2 separate regions of the Homo sapiens genome follow, and region 1 is linked to region 2. Evidence: promoter capture Hi-C in human tissues and cell types (Jung and others, 2019). All regions are on one chromosome and are shown on one strand. The core of a region is centred on a gene start or on the middle of the fragment in contact, and the rest is flanking DNA. Distances in the headings are between cores, read along the strand shown.

Region 1 (2,700 bases), core at 93-2,592, 40 kb after region 2:
CAATTCCATTTCTATCCAGGAAAAATTAAAACATAAGTCCACACAAAAAACTTGTACATGAATGTTTATAGCAATAACAAAAAAGTAGAAAAAAAATTTTCATCAACTGATGGAAAAATAAAATATGGTGTACTCATTGATGAAATATTATTCAGTCATATAAAAGAATGAAGTACTGATTCATGCTACAGCACAGAGGAACATTAAAACGTTATGCTATGTGAAAGAAGCCATAAAGGCCACACATTGTATAATTCCATTTATAAGAAATGTTCAGAATAAGCAAATCCATAAACACAGAGAGAGTATTAGTGGTTGTCAGGGACTATGGGGGAGGATGGATGGGAGAGTGACTACTAGAGGGTACAGGACTTAATTTTAGTGTAATAAAAAATGTTATGAAATTAGATAGTGGTAAGATTGTAAGACTGAATATGTTAAAAACCACTGACTTGTGTACTCTAAAAAGCTGAATATTCTGGTAAGTGAATTATTATCTCAATAAAATAAATAAAATACAAAGTATGGGATAGTTCCATGCTTTGTAATGGTTATATTTGACTAAATTATAGATTGTACAAAGAGAGTAATGGGAAATAAATTTTAAAATATAAATTGAAATCAAATTATAAAAGGCTTTATTAGTGAGAAGCTGTCAGTAGAGAACCATTAAAGATTTCTGAGGCCAGGCATGGTGGCTCACACCTGTAATCCCAGCACTTTGGGAGGCTGAGGCAGGTGGATCAACTGAGGTTGGGAGTTTAAGACCAGTCTGGTCAACATGGTAAAACCCATCTCTACTAAAAATACAAAAAACAACAACAACAAAAAGCCAGACGTGGTGATACATGCCTGTAATCCCAGCTACTTGAGAGGCTGAGGCAGGAGAATTGCTTGAACCTGGGAGGTGGAGGTTGCAGTGAGCTGAGATCGCGCCACTGCACTCCTGCCTGGGTGACAGAGTGAGACTCTGGCTCAAAAAAAAAAAAATTTTTTTTTTGAGAAAGTGAGGAATGTGATTAGAGCGTGGTTCAAGAAATTTAGTCTAGCATCATTTTGATTCATCTCTGCGTCTTTCCTAGCCTTTGTACTAGAGAGGACAGTGATTATGTACTTTGTAGCTTAGTTTTGTCTTAGGGAATACATATGATTTTAGAAATTTTTCAAAGGACTGGATCATATTAGCCTGGTAAATTGAATTATATGTCGTTTTGTAATAATACAATGTATATGAATATATACAAGCATTACCTCATTTCATAGGAAAGAGGTGATAGATAAAATGAGAAAAAGCGAGATTTTGGTTGTGTTTACTAATACATATTTCTGATTTGGAGAACTGGGAAGGGAAAACATAACTGTATTAGTCTAAGTCTCAATGGGTTGCTATATTAGAATAATTCACTAAGGGTTGTCAAGGACTGTGAAGGATCTGAGAATTGACCTTACCAGCAAGCTAACAAATTAACCTGCCATAGTTTCATGAATGCTGGCAGAAGACACAAGACTTTTGGGTCAGAGATAAAGGACTTTTGCATTTTATCATAGTTGATTTCAACTTTAGTTAGTGGAAGAGTTAACTAGTTACACAATTTTTAGAAATGTAATCAAATTAGTACTTGAAAGCTCCAATATATTTATTGTAAAATAAAATATTCAATGCAGAAGTTGCATAAAACCTGTTTCTCACATTGCTTTTTGAATACATGCTTAAGGGACATTTAAGAGTCTATGGCAAATGTTGGCTCTTTGGATTGAAAACCACAAGCTAAAAAAGAATATTAAGGAAATCCAAAGCAAATCACTTGATTTATACCAAGCACTCAATTTTCTCAACACAGTTCTTCAGAAGACAGTTTCAGTAAATTGTGTTAACCACAGATTCATTGTTTACAATAGCTTTCATTAATGTAACATTCCACAGTAGGGAAAAAAATTTTACAATGAGTGAGAAAACACTCTGTAATTAATTCTCCTAGTGTTTTCTACAATATTCCAAGAGATCTGTGTGGATCACAAAACAATACTGTTTTTTAAAAAAATTCTGTTCTAGAAATCACATGAAACAATCCTACCTGTAACTGCAATTGTATTTTATTTTATTTAAATCTGATGAACTGCATGGGCATACAACACAATGTGAGGGCAATTGTGCCAGCAGAATATGTCTATGATCAGGCAGTATGCTGAGAACCAGCAGGTGGGGGAAAATGAGACTTGGGGGACTACAGGGAATGAATCTGGAGGCAGCAGCAATTTTTTAGAATAATTTGAAAACCCTTTGTTTTGAAGGATTTGGTTACCTAATTAGGTTAGAGAAGCTTGTGTGCTTTGTACACAAGGAGAGATGATCTCTATGCTTTTCCTAGACTCTCAAAGCCATTTGTGTTAATTATATGACCTCCACTAAGCACTCAAGGTCTGGCCTATGATATGTTTTCTGTACTCTTCCAAATGCTCATACATTCATTATTAAGAAACTTGGCTTCAGAGCATCAGATTACTGCATTTCTTGTAAACCAGCTTAGTGGCAACAAAATCCAATTCATCTCTAGACATTGGGTTTTCTTAGATGAGCTCTTCTATTTTTCTGTCCCTTGGTTAAAGAAGAGCTGCAAATAGGTCTGCAGAGCTACTTGGTTATCAGTTTTACTTACTATCAAAAGATCTGACTGTATAACCTTTGTTCTTAGATATTTG
Region 2 (2,700 bases), core at 41-2,540:
CAAAATGTATTAGGAGTAACATAATAAGAGCCTCATAAATTAATTTTTTCAGAAAGAAAGCTGTTCATTTACCTAGGACTTTTATTTAAAATACATATGTTCTTTGAAATGAAAGAAAAGCTAATGTTTCTCCATTTATTCTAACTTACAAATTAAGCTGTAAAAGAAAACCACAATAGAAATTGCGTAAATTACCCTTAAGAATCAGCCAATTTTTACCACATACTTTCATTTGGTACACCTTAGGTTTCCTTATGTTTCCATTCACATACTACCATTACATAAGGTTTTACTTTTTTTTTTTTTTTTTTGTCTTTGAGCCCTTCAAGTGAAGTTACCATTGAAAATCAAACAATACCTGTCCAGTGTTGTAAATTAAATATCGTGTAGTTTGATATCATATACCTGCCTTTCCATATCAGCCTTTCATTAATTATAAGTACAAACACCAAAATAATTGTTATCAAGCCCCACAGTAGTTTTTAACTTCAGTTTTCAACTTAATTCTCATTATCCCATACTTTTAAACAGAAAAAAGTTTTAGTACATATATTACCTGGAAGTAATTCTAATCTGTTCCAATAACTAAATAGCTGAGGCTTCTGGGTTAGATATGGTTATCTTCTACTGTTCAAATTTTTAATACAAAGCATGAATGTTAAATTTGTATATAACATTATTACAAAATGACACTGGTAACATGAAATCAGAACAACATTCTTTCCCGAGTACCTAGTACTTACCCACAAGGCATTGTAGATTTCTTTTCATTTAAAGAGTGGATAACAATCTTGGAGTAGATAACAATGAAAACCTAGAAAAAAAAACCCACCTCCTGTTTTTATTGAGTCAAACAAGCAGAACTTTGATTGGAAAGTCCCATTTCATATATTACACTGGTAGTATTTTCTTCTAACGAAAAAAAAAAAGCCCTTGTGCCACCACCTTGACATGTACTTAAACGTTTACCCAAATCACTTAGGCATTGCTTCTCAAACTTGGCTGCATAGCAGAATTGCCTGGAGGGTTTTTAAAAACACAAATGCCTATGTCTCACTCCCTGAAATTCTCCTTTAATTGGTACGAGGCGGGGCTATTCTAGGAACTATTTTCTATCCCTTGGCAATTAGCCATCTGTATAGTATTTTTAACTTCCTACGTGTTATTAACTGTAAGACTGTTTGAATTGTCAGGTCTTTGTGGTGAGCTGAATTCTGCATGGCAGTGCTTACTGTGCAGAAAGGTTGCAATGCCTCACTTTGCCTTAATCCATGTTCCTCTAACTTCCTTACTCTTTCTCTCAAGAGGAGGCAAGTGGCTGTGGCGGCCGCAGCAGTGGCTGATCATCACTGAAAATACCAAAGAAAAGAACTGAGCTGCCTCCTTCATATTTTTTCCATTGAGGATTAATTTACCGTGCTTTTTCATTTTCTCTACATCCTGCAAAAGTTTTTTTCTCTCCTAAGAAACAAACTATGAACTGATTGTTGAAAAAAAGAAGTAAAAAGTTTTAGCACAGCTTCTCTGTCTCTTCGGGACAAGTTAGAAAATTCTGAAGTGAGCCGAAGCATAGTAAGTGCTTTCTTTCTTTTTAAGCTACTTCTGGGGAGGGAGGAGGCTATTGTAATGGTAAATTTCACTCCGAGAGGAAGAAAGGGTTGATAATCAATCAAAAATGAGGTATTCCTTTGAGTATTTGTGATTTTCTTACTATATTGTAAGATGCTTTTAATTTTCTCTGTAAAATAGGCAGAAATGGTTTTAGTGTGTGTATGTGTGAAATAAAAGCTCAGAAAAGCAATCTTCAGAGCGCCACTGAAGGAAGTTTTGACGAACGGAGTAGAGATGTATACCACTTGGGGGCTTCAGTGAGAACCCAGAATTCCTGGAGGAGGATTTACATTCAGAAATGTTGAAGTGAAAATTCCTTCTGGTTCAGCATCTTGGAGTTCAGCTTGGAAGAACATTTTACGTATGGAAGAATTTGCTTCTCCAAACCTCTCTTTTGGCCATTGTGTGTCCTGAAGGATGGGACAACTTGTGCTGTAGAAGCACTGCTTGCCTGAGTTTGCTTCAGGCATTTTAAATTTAACTTGAGGGATCATGTGTTTGGCATGATGAGGACCACTGAAGACTTCCACAAGCCTAGTGCCACATTAAACTCTAACACGGCCACCAAGGGAAGGTACATTTATCTGGAGGCATTCCTGGAGGGAGGAGCTCCCTGGGGTTTTACTCTAAAGGGTGGCCTGGAGCACGGAGAACCATTAATCATCTCTAAGGTATGTTTCTTTTTCCAATATTGCCTTTATTCAAATTGTTTTTTTCAACTTGTCAGATTTGTCAAAAATGCAAAATAATGAGAACTGCCTTAATATAACTTAATTTGCTGTTTCATGCCTTTCTGATTATCTAGAAATATTTTGGATAGCCTGGGATTTGAAAGAAAAATGTGTCTAGCTCATTTATTCTATGAAATCCGAAGAAAAATATGCCTGTTTGATGGATAATCTTCTCTTTTTGTGAATGAAATCGCATACAATCAGTTACCACATGAGCTTTTCAGTTATAAATCAGATTAAAGATTAATAACATGGTTAAGATGGTGGCATGGTATATATTTGTGCATTCAAAAATATCTGCTTTTTCTCTCTTCAACTGAAAATAGCATCTAAAAATATTTTAAGTTTGCTTATAATT

What was found. The method cuts DNA at HindIII sites, captures the fragments that hold promoters and counts their contacts. A contact is called where the count stands out against the background at its distance.
Region 1: a fragment that was not itself captured here is called in contact with the fragment with the promoter of SHROOM3 in region 2 in 3 of the 25 tissues and cell types used here (aorta, stomach and thymus).

The regions. Positions count from the first base shown.
Region 1 is chr4:76,473,950-76,476,649 of GRCh38, forward strand. The region is part of intron 1 of SHROOM3 (shroom family member 3); the gene reads left to right. Among named protein-coding and RNA genes, the nearest start is that of SHROOM3, 40 kb to the left of the region's middle. The HindIII fragment of the contact is 4,247 bases long and covers 1-2,700 here.
Region 2 is chr4:76,433,939-76,436,638 of GRCh38, forward strand. It overlaps SHROOM3 (shroom family member 3), which reads left to right and starts at 1,291. Exons shown (of 11, transcript NM_020859.4): 1 at 1,291-2,282. The coding sequence starts at 2,115. The HindIII fragment of the contact is 12,167 bases long and covers 1-2,700 here.